Linked DNA regions of Homo sapiens: regions 2 and 3 are each linked to region 1. Evidence: promoter capture Hi-C in human tissues and cell types (Jung and others, 2019). All regions are on one chromosome and are shown on one strand. The core of a region is centred on a gene start or on the middle of the fragment in contact, and the rest is flanking DNA. Distances in the headings are between cores, read along the strand shown.

Region 1 (5,150 bases), core at 1,102-3,601:
TGGCACAATCGATCTCACCTCACTGCAACCTCCGCCTCCTGGGTTCAAGTGATTCTCCTTCCTCAGCCTCCCGAGTAGCTGGGATTACAGGCGCCCGCCACAATGCCCGGCTAATTTTTGTATTTTTAGTAGAGACGGGGTTTCACCATGTTGGCCAGGCTGGTCAGGAACTCCTGACCTCATGATCCGCCTGCCTTGGCCTCCCAAAGTGCTGGGATTACAGGCCTGAGCCACCGCGCCCGGCCTTGAGGTTCCTACCTTTCTTGCCCTTCCCCAGGATCTGTTCCCTTCTTTCTCACATTGTCTGGCCCAATCTGATGGCTTCTACTCTCCCCGCCTGGAGGTGATTTGGGGAATAGAAGGGTCTTCACTCTGGGGAGGAAGAGGTAGAGGAGAGCCATCTGAGGCCTTCCAGGAGAGGAGACTGATTCACACCTGAATCCTGGGGTTCTGAAAACCTGCCCCAGGAGACTTATTCCTTGACTTCAAAGGGTTAAATGGGCTAAAGTAGTCTGGATCCCAGCCAGGAAAGAAAGGAGGAAAAAAAAAGGGAGGAGGTTTTTCCATCTGGAAGGAGGCTGAGTGAGTCCAGGGGCCCAGATAGGAATAGAAGGAGAGCACAACAGCCCCATTAAACAAAGAGGAGAGGTCAAGGCCCGAGCTTCACTGAATAGGGCTGAAGCAAGTCCCCTCGGGTCTTTGCCTCCCAGGGGCTCTCTCAGGGCTGGAACTGTGCTAGGGCAGGTTTCAATATAACTTGTGTTTGTCTGTGTTATAGATGGGCCCAAGCCACAGCTTCCCTCCTAGGGACCCTTCCAAAGAACCACTTGGAGGGTCTCATTGAATAGTTCCCAGGGAAAAGAGAGGAAGCCTCTGGGATATCTGGGGAAAGGTCTGAAGGTCATGGAAAAGATCCGAAGGTCACCCCTGGAGTTAGTGCAGGACAGAATCAGGGTCTCAGAGGTCTGCAGAGCTGTTGGGGGTGTGTGCTCCATGTCCACCACCTCTCCATTGGCAGGATGCCTCAGAAGACTGGGTCCTACCCTGTCCTTCAGCCTCCCTTTAACTGCTCAGGGGTGCAGGCACCTGAGAGGCAAGGAAACTCTTGGGGTAGATGAGAACATAGCATTTTTCAGCCTGAGCTTTCGGCTCAGAGTGTGTGACCCCACCCTGTAGGAACCTTGGCATCTCGGTGGACATAAACACATGGGAACAGGTACTTGGGTGGGAAGACAGAACAGCTTTTTATTCAGTTAGGTATAAATCATATTTACAAGGAAGAGGTGGGGTGTACTGGGGAGCCGTATCAGGTCCAGGGTCCTGATGATTCTCCTTCAAGGGGACAGTCCTGCTGCCTCCTCTCATGCTCCCTGGGAGACTCTCCCTCCTCGGTCTCTCTGGACCTGGCCTGCTGTGGGCAGCTCAGCCATGCAGGGTAGAGCTGGGAATGCAGATGGGGTGGTTAAAGCAGGAGAAAGAGTGTGGCAAGGCCAGCATGGGGTGGCTGCTCCAGGGCCCCTGAGCATAGCCTCCTTCTTGCATCTTGGGTTCAGGCTTCAAGCGCTGGTGAGGCTGGTGGGGTCTCCAGGGCTCCAGGCTGCTCACTGGGCTATGGCCCTTTAGGGGTCTGTGACCGCTCAGTCCTGTGAGGGCAGAAGAGGGGTGTGAGGGGCTGACTGAGGCTCCCCTTTACCCACATCCCTCAGATTCCTCACCTCTTGCAGCCTTTGGAGCCCTTTCCTTTCTTGCCAGTCTTGGAGGCCCCCCTGTCCTTCCTGCAGCCCTGGGCTGGTTTCTGTGGGGATGGTGTCTTGTCCAGATGCTGCATCAGCTGCTGCACCCAGAGCTCCTTTGGGTCTGCACATAGCTCTGCCTGAGAGCGCTTGCGGGGCAAGAACCTGCGGGTGGGGGCTAGTAAGCCTTCTTAGTCTTGCCCACCATGCCCTCCCCACCCCGTCACCAGCCAGTACCCACCCCTTTGTGTCCACTCACAGGATAGCTGGGATGGAGCAGCCTAAGCTTGGTTCCTGCTTCCGGTAGCTGCGGACAACCTTGGCGGGAATCTTCCTTTGGCTGTACTTGAGGCAACAGTCCTGAGCCCCTCCATCACTGCCTGCAGGGTGGGATTCACAGGGAGCCAGGGGCTGCTGGCAAGCTCCTATCCAGGCCTCTTGATCCCCTTAGCCCCATGCAAGGCCCCTCCCTGCCTTGGTACCTTGGGTCCTGGGGATGCCAAAGGCCAGAACCAGGATAAGGAGGCTCAGAGCCAGTGACTGAGCCATGTCTGTGGTAGAGGGTGAGTAAGAGGCCAGAGCTGAGGGTGAGGTGGGCAGCTGCAAGTTGGGGGTCTGTGCGTGGGCTGGGATTGGCCTGCTATTTATGTAGCTAGACACTTTCACTTCCCTTAACTTATCCCCACTCCTTTTCCTTCCTGAAAGCTGGATTTGCTGGCACCCAGCCCCACTTATCTCAAACTAAGTGGACAGTCCTCAGCTGCCAAATTTTATGTCCTCATTAGTTGAATATGTCTGGGCCTGAGCCTTCCTTCTATTCCCAGCTACTGCTTTCATGCAGGCCTCACTGCCTCTCCCCTGGAACACCATGACTGTCTCCTCACTACGCTCCAGGATCCATACCCTTCCCCTCCTTCCAGCAAATCTGATTATTAAATTGTAAGAGTTCTTTTTTTTTTTTTTTTTTTTGAGACAGGGTCTAACTCTGTCACCCAGGCTGGAGTGCAGTGGTTGATCTTGGCTCACTGAAATCTCCGCCTCCTGGGCTCGAGTGATCCTCCTACCTCAACCTCCCCAGGAGCTGGGACTACAGGCAAGCACCACTGCGCCTGGCTGATTTTTCTATTTTTTTTTTGTAGAGACGAGGTTTCACGATGTCTAGCCCAGGCTAGTCTTGAGCTCCTGGGCTCAAATGATCTGCCTGCCTCAGCCTCTTGAGGAGCTGGGACCACAGGCACATGCCACTACGTCCGGCTACTGTTTTCATTTTTCATTTTTATTTTTTCTAGAGATGAGGTCTTGCTATGTTGCCCAGTCTGGTCTTGAACTCCTGGGCTCAAGCGATCCTCCTGCCTTGGCCACCCAAAGTGCTGGAATTATAGGTATGAGCGACTGCACCTGGTCTGTAGCATAACCATTTTGATTCCCCTTTGCTTTCCTTTTCTATATATTTTGTAGTTATTTTCCTAATGGATACCTTGGTGATTATAATTAACATTCTAAACTGATAACAACCTAGTTTGAATAATACCAACTTAGTTTCAATGGTATATAAACATTTTGCTCGTATACATTTTAGTCCCTTCTTTATATTGTTATTGTCACAGATTACATCTTTATACATTGTGTTCCCATTGACATAGATTTATAATTATTGTTTAATGCATTTTCCTTTTAAATTATATAGAAAAAAGTGGGGCTACAAACTAAAAATACAATACTAGCTTTTATCTTTTTTTTTTTTTTTGACACAGGGTCTCGCTTTGTCACCCAGGCTGGAGTGCGGTGGCACAATCTCAGCTCACAGCAGCCTCGACCTCCTGGGCTCAAGTGATCCTTCCACCTCAGTCTCCTGAGTAGTGGGGCCACCATGCCTGGCTAATTTTTGTATTTTTTGTAGACACGAGGTCTCACTATGTTGCCCAGGCTAGTCTCGAACGCCTGACCTCAAGCAATTCACCCGCCTTGGCCTCCCAAAGTAATGGGATTACAAGTGTGAACCAGCATACCTGGCAATGTTGTTACTTTTTTTTTTTTTTTTTTGAGACAGAGTCTCACTCTTTCGCCCAGGCTGGAGTGCAGTGGCGTGATCTTGGCTCACTGCAACCTCCACCCTCCGGGTTCAAGCCATTCTCCTGCCTCAGCCTCCCGAGTAACTGGGATTATGGGCACCTGTCACCACATCCAGCTAATTTTTCTATTTTTTGTAGAGATGGGGTTTCACCATGTTGGCCTGGTTGGTCTCAAACTCCTGACCTCAAATGATCCGCTCACCTTGGCCTCCCAAAGTGCTGGGATTACAGACATGAGCCACTGCGCCCAGCCTGCTATGTTGTTATGTTTATCAGAGATCTTTGTTTCTTTGTGTGGCTGTGAGTTATTATTTTTTGTCCTTTTGTTTCATTCTGAAGGTCTTCCTTTAGCATTTGTTTGTTTGTTTGTTTGTTTTTTCTTTCTCCCGTTAGCTTTTCTTGTGGGCAGGTCTACTATTAATGAACTTCCTAAGTTTTGTTTATCTGGAAATGTCTTATTTCTCCTTAATTCTTGCAGCATAGTTTTGCTGGATATATAGAATTCTTGTTTGACTTTTTTTTTTCTTCAGTCTTTAAATATATCCCCCATTGTCTTTTGGCCTCCCATGGTTTCTGAAATCAGCTGGTAATCTTATTGAGAATCTCTTGTACATAATGAGTTACTTCTCTCTTGCTGCTTTTAAAATCTTTGGGTTTCAACAATTTGACTATAATTTGTCTTGGTGTGGATCTCTGAGTTTATCCTTCTTAGAGTTTGTGAACTTCTTGGGTATGTATATTCATGCTTTTCATCAGATTTCAGATGTTTTGTCATTATTTCTTCAATTTTTTTAATGCCCTGTTCCCTCTCTTCTCCTCCTGAGACTCCTGTGATGAGGTACATTTGATGGTATCCCTGAGGCTCGTTTATTTTTCTTCTCATACTTGATAATTTTAATTGTCTTATCATCAAGAATACTGATCCTTTTTTTTCTGCTTAAATTAGTTGTTGATTGCCCCTAGTGAATTGTACATTTCAGTTATTGTATTTTTGCTTCCAGAATTTCTGCTTGAGTCCTTTTTTTCTTTTTACTAATTTCCATCTCTTTATTGATAGTTTCATTTTGTTCATACACCATTTTTCAGATTTCCCTTAACTCTTTGCCCATGGTTTCCTTCAGCTCTTTGAGCATATTTAAGACAGTTATTTTTTTTTTCCAAAAGGGCCATTGTTTCCCAATTTAATTTGAGGTCATAATAAAACAAGCAACAAAGCAGTATTTGAGATTTCAGCTTCTCACCCTTATCATCAAACCTCCCATCATCAATATTTATTGAGCATTTACAGTAAGACAGTTAAAGTCTTCATCTACTATGTCCAATATCTGGGCTTCCTCAGGGATAG
Region 2 (5,150 bases), core at 1,457-3,956, 760 kb after region 1:
TTTTTGTGATAGAGTTAAGTCCTCATGTGTGTGAACAGTCATACCCAGTGTCCTAGCTAACAGAGGAAGGTAATCACATCTAAAAAACTAGAACACATGGAATAATCTTTCTGGGGTGACGAAAAAGTTTAGAAACTTGAGAGAGGTGGTAGTTGCACATTGTAAATGCACTAAATGCCTCTAAATTGTACACATTAAAATGGATAATTATATGTTAACTAAGTAAATTTCATATCAATAAGTAATTGAAATTTTTTAATTAAAAAAAGCTAGGCCGGGTGCGTTGGCTCACGCCTGTAATTTCAATACTTTGGGAGTCTGAGGCAGGCGGATCACCTGAGGTCAGAAGCTCGAGACGAGCCTGGCCAACATGGTGAAACCCCATCTCAACAAAAAATACAAAAATATTAGCCAGGCATGGTGGCACATGCCTGTAATCCCAGCTACTTGGGAGGCTGAGGTGGGAGAATTTCTTAAACCCGGGAGGTGGAAGTTGCAGTGAGCCAAGATCATGCCACTGCACTCCAGCCTGGGTGACAAGAGTGAAACTCCTGTCTAAAAAAAAAAAAAAAAAAGACTAGAGCACTCTAATATTTCCTATTATTTCCTATATTTCCTATTATTTGTTTGGTAACCATGTCAAACAAATTTTCACTTATATAAACTCTGAAGGCTTATTTTTGGATGAGCTGATTTGGGTGAGCCTCTTAATTCTCTGACCTGACCATATACTGGGTAAAGTTGAAAAGGACCATGAGTGTTTCCATGCTTGGCATCAGACATGTCTTCTACCCCTATTCAGTCTGTCATCCACTGGTCAAGAATCCCAAACATTCTAAAACTGTGTCCACATCTCTTCTGGGTAACTCTTATGATTGGAGGGCTTCCTGAGGTGTGAAGTCTATCACAGATCCAGTGACTAACTTCTAGCTTCATCTTATTCTCACTTAGGGGAGAAGAGTTGAGGCCCAAGCAAACCTCTTCTTACCATTGGCTTAGGGAAAGGAGCTTACTGGGAACTGGGAGCTAGGTGGCCTGAGGAGACTGGGGGGCAGGCATCTTGACTGCAAGTCTAGGATGAAGGAATCAGAATAAATAAGCTTTTAAGGCCCCTCCTTTAAATCACCATATGACCCAGCAATTTGATTCCTAGGTATATACCCCCAAAACTTGAAAACAAGAACTCGGATACATGTATACCAACGTTCATTGTGACATTATTCGCATAAGTCCAGAGATAGAAATAACCCACATGTCCATCCACAGATGAATGGATAAAGAAACTGTGGTATAGCATATACATACAATGGAATGTGAATCATCCATAAAAAGTAATGAAATTTGATACATGCTACAACATGGATGAACCTTGAAAGCATTATGCTAAGTGATGTAAGCTAAACACAAAAAGACAAAAATTTTATGATTCTACTTATGTGAACTATCTAGAATAGGCAAATTCATAGAGACAAAAAATAGACTAGAGGTTACTAGGGGCTGGTGATGGGAAAAAATGGGAAGTTTCTGTTTGGGGTGCTGAAAAAATGTTGGAAATATATAGTGGTGATTGTTGCACAACATTGTGAATATAATTAATGTCATTGCATTTTACATTTAAAATAGTTAAAATGGCAAGTTTTATGTGATATATATGTATATTTTTTTAACAACAATTTAAAGAAATTCAAACCCTCCTTTAAAACCCTTGCCAAGTCTCTGCTGTGTTCACTTACCAACAGGTGATACTTATGACAAGGATGGACAGAGGGTGACGGTCTCTGAGGTGAGTGATTACAGCTCCATGGGAAATGCATGTGGGAGCTGAGTGAGGCTGTGCTTCAGAGAAGCATCCTTAATACAAATCGAGACTCCCTTAGCCACTGAAATATTAAAGCTTTTACTGGTCCTGTAATATCAGAAAGCATTATATAAATGACCTATGTTTAATTCTGAAGATCTTCGTTTGTTCTTTTTAAACAAAAATAGCTTTATTGGCTTTTTCTCTTTAAAAAATAATCCATGCTCACTGTAAAAAAAAAAATTAAATAATACAGAAATGTGTGAAGAAAGTTAAAATTATTCCATCCCATTTAGATAGCCAGTGTAAAGTTGGGGAGTATATCCTATGCTTTTCATATGTGTATACACACACACATATGTACATCTAGATCTAGAAGATGGGGGAGATAAAATCATAGTATGCATGCTATTTCCAGTTTCCTTTTGTTCACTTGACACTATTATTGTCGTCATCTTTCCATGTCGGTAGGTCTAGGTCTACATCATCATTTTGAATGGGTGTCCACTATTCAGTTGTATCACTGTACCTTAATTTATTTAATTTCTTATTTTTATTCCATTTTCCTTTGCGATTACAAATGACATTTTGGTAATCATTATGGAACATACATTTTGTCTACTTTTCTGATAATTATTTCTTTAGAATAAAGTCCTAGAAGTAAAATTCATTGGTCAAAAGGTAGCCACGTTTTAATACATTAAATAGTGCCACATTGCCCTCCAGGTAGATTCGCATAACTTTATAATCCCACCAAAAATATATGACATTTTGTTTTCCCCCATATGCTTGTCAGAACTGGTATTAACAATTTTTAATCTGTTGAAATTTAATTGATGAAAAATGGTATCTAATTATTTAATTTACCTTTTTTGATGACTAATTAGGTTGAATCATTTTTATGTGCTTATTTTTCTTCCCCTTATCATCTCTTTATTGCCCATTTACACTTACTTTGTGAACTGTCTATTCATATTCTTTGGCCTTTTTTTCTTATTTGAAAATGCTCTTTATACAGTAAAAATACTAGCTCTTCCTTTTTCTGGTGCATATGTTATAATTATTTTTCCCATTTTGTCTTTTGGTTTTTAATTTGTTAAATAATATTTTGTGTAGAAGTGTTTAATTCATGTAATCAAATCTATCAGTCATTTTCCTTTGTAACTTAAGGATTTGTGACATATTCAACAGGCTTTATAAAATTATAAAAATATCTTCCTATTCATTCTTCTTATCTCTAGTTGGTTTTTACTGTTTTCTCTAGTATTGGACCCAGCTTTTGTTTATGGATTTGTTTTTAAGTGTCCCTTCACAGGGGTTCTTCTGCTGCCTTCAGGGTATTCCTCACCTTATCTCTGTCTTGCTAGACCCAATTCCAAACTGAGCCACTTGACTTATGTACCAAACATCTGACTCCAGTTCTCAACTGTTGCCTTACCCCTGTCCATCCAAAGAGATTGGGAAGGGGAAGGAAATTCAGTGATTTGCCTTAAATCATCTTCCAGGGGCTTGGCTAATGACCTTGGCAATATAGGCAAAATTATAGCTTCTAGGGAGTAAATCCCTCCTGGAGTTTCTTTCCTCTCCTTCTGTCCACTACTGATTGACCGTAACACATTTTTCACTAAATCACTGGAATTTTTGTTCTCTTATAAACAAACTTACCTATAGCCTCAATCCCTTCATTAATTGAAACATGATTTTCCCTGAGAACATTCCTTTTTCTTCCATCTCTCTCATACTCTGCATACCATAAACTCTGGATACCATAAGCCCAAAGGTGTTGCCCTCATTATCCTGTGCCATGTTTAACCATTAGTTTTTCTCTCCTACACAATCTTTCTTCCTGTGATGCTTATGACTTCTGGCTATACTCATCTGTAACTCTTCTTGTTGTTGATATCTAGGAAGCTTCTGGCTTCTACACCCCATTCATTGAGGGCTTTGAAACTTCTCCCTCCCCTCCCAACCACTGCTATTGTTTTGGGTGGTATTGTCATCCTTATGGACGACCTATCACTGTAGACTCTTTCAGGTCTCTGAAAGAATCCTTCAGATGATCTCTTGGACAAAAAAAAAAAAAAATCTGTATCACCCATTTCCATGTTACCATGTAATTGTCCAGAGTTGTACTAATGTGGAATTATAAACTTTCTTTTCACAATCTTTGATCACAAACCTTATTCCTCCATATTCTCAGTACATGGCTCGTACTTGAGATTTTTAAAAGTATTCCTGCTTTTTTATCTCATGGAGATTTATAAACCCTTGGCTTTCTTTTTTCTCCAGTCTATCAATTCCTTATGACTTTACTTCCTTTCCTAGCTTGCCTGTCTGTACCCTGGGATCATAAGCATCCTCAGTACCTTACTAGTTCTCCTTTTCTTCTCTTTAATCACTGAACAAATCTCAACCTTGAATTAACCAAACCATCGACCCTGCTCTGTTTCTAATTTGAGAGTGTTAAGCACTATTTTGGAGATCATAAAACCATTACAAATTCAGAGACTCCACTGTCCTCTGTCCCAGTGCCACTTGGCAAATTTTTCACCATTTTGTAATTGGCTTCATATTTTATTCTCCGTATCAGCTTTTCTAAACAATCACCATTCTCAGACCTTCTACCACACTCTCCTGGCTCCCCAGTACGTAGCAAATGATACTGCCTTCTATTTTACTGAGAAAAATCCAAACTATCAGCTAAATATCCTCCTCTGTACATATATTTTAACCCGCCTTTACCTCCTTTCCTTCAGTCTCAAAAGAAGTATAACTTTTTCCTTCAGTACTAATCTATATATTGTAGTTTCCATCCCTTCCTACTTCTTCAGGAACCTCAGTCAATCCTGTATTCTCTCTTTCTTAATATCTGACTATCCCCTTATATGATTCTTTCCCCTCAGCTCGTCTTTTTTTTTTTTCCCCGCGGAGTCTGGCTGCATCCCCCAGGCTGGAGTGCGGCGGCACGATCTCAGCTCACTGCAGCCTCCGCCTCCTAGGCTCAGGTGATTGTCATGCCTCAGCCTCCTAAGTAGCTAGGATTACAGGCGTGGCCACCACACCTGGGTTAAACTTTCCCTTAAGCTGTTTTCACTGATGTTGAGACTTAGAATTTCCAAACATATGTAGTGGGAACAAATTCCTGGATCTTGGAGTTTTCTTAGCATCCAAAGTCATCTTTTTGGAACAGGCTAAGCCTCAAGGAGCCTCTGGGTCATGCCAGATAGGCCAGATATGGCGTTCACCTATAGCCATACTCGGAAATACAGCTTCCCTTTGCTTCTCCTTCCCCACTCAGACAGCCTGTACTCCTGACCCCAACACACACACAATTGTTACTTTGATGAATTCA
Region 3 (5,150 bases), core at 974-3,473, 640 kb after region 1:
ACTCCAAGGCTAGGTGGACTCCAGAGCCTACTTACCCCATCCCAGCTCAAACATTACTTTTCTGTGGCCTTGTATGCCTCGTTTTGCTGGGCCTCTCACCTCCTTTCCATTCCCAACCCCTGAATTAAATGCTTACTTTCTTTTTCATTTTTTTTTTTTTTAAAGACAGGGTCTTGTTCTGTCACCCAAGCTGGAGTACAGCCTCAACCTCCTGTGCTCAAGCGATCCTCCCACTTCAGCCTCCCAAGCAGCTGGGACCACAGGCACATGCCACCACATCCAGCTAATTTTTTATTTTTTGTAGAGACGTGATCTCCCTACCTTGCCCATACTGGTCTCTAACTCCTGGGCTCAAAGGATCTTCCTGCTTTGGCCTCCCAAAGTGTTGTGATTACAGGCGTGAGCCCAGCTAAATGCTTACTTTTTATTATAACTTTTATTATAATATGTATCACTTTATATTGTGATCATCTATATATATCTTTCTCTCCAAATCTTAATGTATTAGAGAGCAGGTACTGCATCTTATCTCCCTGGCACACACAGTAAGTACTCATGCAGTTCAACTGACTTGGAGATCAAATGGTCCTTCTTACAGTTTGCTCCCTGTCATTTCACTTCTGTGGACAGTAGTAGCAAAGAGAGGCTGGGAAGGAGGTGAATTGGGCCTCCTGTCCCTGAGGGTTGCCCTTTCAGCCCATTCTGGCTTCTGATATTCTACTGAGCTCAGCACAGTGACTGGTTGGTCCTCTGAGCATCACATCGAGCTCCATCCCCTGCTTCAAAGCCCAAAGACTGGATTACTAAGTGAGTTTGGTGCCCTTCCTATATCACCAGAAGAGATTCTTGAGTTCAAAGTTCATCCCAGGGCAGTGGCTACCAACTCATAAGAAGGTGTGGAGGCTTTTGTTTGTTTAATATGGAAGGAAGCATCTTTGTTTGAGGCTGGGAGAAGCTGCTATGGCAGCTCTAGTTGAAAATTTCCTATTTGTCAGTAACATGGGGAACCAGGCAGCTCTGCCTTCAGTCTTCAGGAGGCCACAGGAAAGGACTCTGAACCCAGTGGCTATGCCATTTGCCCCCTGTGTGGCTGGCCAGCCAGTGTCGTAAGCACTGTAGTTTGGAAGGGAATACCTTGTAAGGTGTCCGGGAAATGAGGCCAAGTATGTCTGGAGGGCTGGGCACGGTGGCTCACACCTGTAATCCTAGCACTTTGGGAGGCGAGATGGGCGGATCACCTGAGGTCGGGAGTTTGAGACCAGCCTGACCAACATGGAGAAACCCCATCTCTACTAAAACAAAAACAAAAACAAAACAAAACAAAACAAAAACTTATGTCTGCAGTATTGATCTGAGGGGCAGAAGCAGATAGGCCCCAGGTTAGCCTGGTCTACACTGAATCAGTAGCAGTAGCAGGGGAGTCAGCTTCATTAGTGTTCCCGACAAACTGCCTTATCTGGACCAAAGTGAGGCTGGCCTTAGAAGACCTGGCAATGAATTCTGGGCCTCACCAGCATTGGAAAAATAAAGCTTGGCTTCTATAGCCATTTATCTCTTCCTCAGCGTTCAGGCTGTCTGAGAGACGGCCGGCCTCCTGACACTTGAATGAGGTGTTGGGAACTGAATGATTTACTCCTCCTTCTCCTTACCTTAAAAAGAAAACTTCTAGGAGAAAGCAGGACTAACTTTAAGGGTGACAGTCTCCTCGTAGGATTCCAGGCACTGCTGCAGACCATTAGAAGGGAGTGGGAAAGGCAGGAGTCTGGGGCAGAAGTAGAAGTCATGGCTCACTCAAATTGTGCCAGTTAGGTGGTTGGATGCTTGCTTTAGATATGGGTTTCCCTACTTTGTTGACTCAGGGACTTGCCACATCAGTAGCAATAACAACAGGACAGTGCTTTACAGTTTAGTAAGTACAGTTCTCTCATTTTAGCTTTATATAATAACATTCCTGTAATTATCTCCCCCACTTTACAGATGAGGAAACTAATTCACATAGAGGTCAAGTGTTTAATCCAAGGTCACTGGTGGAACAAGACCCAAACTTAAGTCTCTTGATGCCAGTCCAGTAGCACTTGCTCATGGCTTCATGTAGTTGTACACAGAGCTTCCATCTTAGTTTACTAAGCTTACTAAGCAATTCTAATTTTTTTTTTTGAGACAGTCTTGCTCTATTGCCCAGGCTGGAGTGCAGTGGTGCGATCTTGGCTCACCGCAACCTCTGCCTCCTGGGTTCAAGTGATTCTCTTGCCTCAGCCTCCCGAGTAGCTGGGATTACAGGCACCTGCCATCACTCCCAGCTAATTTTTATATTTTTAATAGAGAGGGGGTTTCACCATATTGGCCAGGCTGGTCTCAAACTCCTGACCTTGTGATCTGCCTGCCTCGGCCTCCCAAAGTGCTGGGATTACAGGCGAGAGCCACCACGCCCAGCCGCAGTACTTCTTTTTTAAAGACAAATTTGAAAGGCCACTTGCCAGCTGCAGCCCTTGTAAAGCCAGGAACATTGTTCATGGCTAATACCAAGAGCAAATCAGGGATACCCAATCCCTACATGGTTGGGGAGGAAAAAAAAAAAAAAAAAAAGGAGTATCTTTGGAAATTCAGATTTTGTCCTTGTGGGAAGAGAGAAGGAAGAATTTGGCATCCTCTAGACTTTGGAGCGTGGTCTACCTAGGCAGCTGGGCACCAAGCCCAAGACCCAGAAATTCTGGTTGTGCAGGTAGTGCATCCTCGCAGGCTAGACTGAGTTGGCCAGATTAGGGGCATGGCTGTTCCTGGCCCCATGAGACCTTGAGGTGAAGCAGTAATGCCTCACAGGATGGATAGGGTTCTTAGATGAAGAATTCCTCAATGAATTAGAGTTGTTAGATAAGCTGGAAAGAAAAGGAGAGATGTGAAATGGGAATACATGCAGTTTCTGTCTCTTGGTTCTTGGCCTAGTTATTTCTAGTAAAAAGAATCAGCTTCATCTTTATCCCAAGTCCTCTGACTCGTCCTTCTGGTTCCTCCTAGTCTGGGGAAGCACAATGCTTTTAAATTCCAGGCCCACAGACTAGATGTAGGTGGTGGCCTTTCCTGAAAATGGGTTGCCATGAGAGCAGTCTGCCTGTGTTCTTTAAGGCATTTTCCCACTTTTAGGATTAACTTGAGTACTGGGAAAATAAAAGGAGGCAGAGTTTAGAAGATTTAGAAATCTCCATCAAATCTAGAAAATGGGGAAAGCATCCCTGGTCAAAGAACATGAAGAGTAGCATGTCTCCCACCAATCCATCTTACCCCTCCCAGGAGACCTAGCAGGACTGGAATATTAGTTGTCCCATGTGCCTCCTAGATCTCTGCTTTCCTCCTTGTACTTTCCACTCTACTGCTTCCGTACACTCTCCACATTCTCAGTAAAAAGGGAATGTATTCTCACTCCACATGAGGTAATCATCGTCTCTGCCTCTGTAATGCAGTCACCAATAGCTTAGGGTGTAGGGACTAGACTGGTGGCAAGTCTGTCTTTACCTTATTGGAGAAGAGTAAAGCACCCTGGAGCCCTCTGTGAGGTAACCCTCCCCCACATGTCCCATGTGATATTCTCTCTGGGCCAGGCAGAGGATTAGAGCAACCCTTTGTTATTAATACTTGAGCAGTGGACAGTGTGCTGGACAATCACTTATTGTGGTGCTCTGAAAGATCCTCTGTGGGCCAGGAAAGCCAAACCCAGATATTGACTAGCTGCAGCAAGCCCTTAGAGAGTATTAAGTGGAGCTCAGGAGCACCAAGCTAAGCCTAAACCTCCTTCATCCCCAGTTGTGAGTTCATGATACCTGTCTCTTTGGCTACCTGCCTCTCTACCTGCCTCTCTCATGCTAAATGCCACCTACGTCTGGACAGTGTGTGCGTACTGTGCCACTTTATTCTAGAATTAGGTAAAGAAATATTTTTCCTGCTAAGTTTAAAATACGTAAACCATTGTCCTTTCTCCAAGTGAACGGTTGCCATCACTCAACAAAGGGAAAATACTTTGTGCTATAAGCACAGGCAGGGGTAAACTTTTGAGTAAGTGGAGTCTTCACCAGAACAACAAACTGGAAAAGAAAGAAAGAAAGAAACATTCCATGTCTTGTCTTTCACTGTGTATGTGATTTGAGCCTTGGTGGTTAAGCATTTGTTTGTTTATTTCTGAGCCAGACTCCTAGTACTGAATTTTGTGAAAGTTCAAATAAGGACTTACTCATTGACCTTACTTCATCTACCTCCCAGCAGCTTGTCTCAATATCGTTGACTTTGGGTACTTGCCCAGAACACAAGGACTTTATTTTAATTTTACATTGATACTCTAAGGGGAAGCTAATGAGAAACAACTGACTGCCCATAGCCTTTAAGACTGGGGTTGGGAGGCAGGTCAGGGTTGATTCCTATAATCTTAGGAGATAATGTTTTTATTCCTGCTTGACAACTTGATTCAAACTAAAATCATCCTGCTACTTTCTGACCTGAGTGCACTATTTTCCTTTTTCACTAGCTACAGGATAAATCAAGCCAGGATCCAGGGGCATGTGCGAGGTTTGGAGGCCACACATGGGGCCATTCCAGGCAGCACTGTGGGCTAAGCCCAAAGCATCAGCCAGCAATAATTGCTAGAAACAAACTGAAAAGAGCAGGACAGGCTGTTGCCTTCCAAGGTAATCTCTATTAAGCATCCTGACCAGAAATAAGAGGAAGAAGCAGAGAACCCCTCAAACCCTGAGGGAGAAAATGAAGCGATTGTTGCAAGAGTCAGAGGAAGAAATCATGGTTACCTTGGGACCCTCCTCCAGGCTTTCCCCAGATAAGGCTAAGGCAGAGACCATGTGTGGCACCAAGAGCAAATCCTCTGGCCCTGCTGGATCCTTACCAGAGGACAACTCCCTGCCCCCTTGCTGTGGGTCAGCAGCCTTAGCCATTGGTGGAGATAGAGATGGGGACCTGGCCCAGCTTTGCAGCTTTGGGCAGCAGAACAACAGCCAGCTTCCTCTGGGCTCCACTGCCTATGTTTCAGGGTCTGGTTCTCAGGATCCCTCATCTGTCAGCATTACCACAAGCTGTCAGGAGCCCTCAGAGAGGAACCAAACCAAGACCCTTTTGTCCAGAGGCCATGGCCAAGGCTGTAGCCGTGAACA

The links. Contacts are between HindIII fragments. The study calls those that stand out against the background at their distance.
Region 2: a fragment that was not itself captured here is called in contact with the fragment with the promoter of CCL21 in region 1 in 2 of the 25 tissues and cell types used here (dorsolateral prefrontal cortex and lymphoblastoid cells).
Region 3: a contact is called between a fragment that was not itself captured here and the fragment with the promoter of CCL21 in region 1, in 1 of the 25 tissues and cell types used here (thymus).

The regions. Positions count from the first base shown.
Region 1 is chr9:34,707,785-34,712,934 of GRCh38, forward strand. CCL21 (C-C motif chemokine ligand 21) reads right to left here and starts at 2,352. Exons shown (of 4, transcript NM_002989.4): 1 at 2,216-2,352; 2 at 1,993-2,113; 3 at 1,716-1,898; 4 at 1,221-1,643. The coding sequence starts at 2,282. The coding sequence ends at 1,610. It also overlaps a transcript of PHF24 not described here. The HindIII fragment of the contact is 9,492 bases long and covers 1-5,150 here.
Region 2 is chr9:35,471,989-35,477,138 of GRCh38, forward strand. It overlaps the pseudogene ATP8B5P. Among named protein-coding and RNA genes, the nearest start is that of RUSC2, 16 kb to the right of the region's middle. The HindIII fragment of the contact is 4,317 bases long and covers 549-4,865 here.
Region 3 is chr9:35,346,781-35,351,930 of GRCh38, forward strand. The region is part of intron 11 of UNC13B (unc-13 homolog B); the gene reads left to right. Among named protein-coding and RNA genes, the nearest start is that of RUSC2, 140 kb to the right of the region's middle. The HindIII fragment of the contact is 3,146 bases long and covers 651-3,796 here.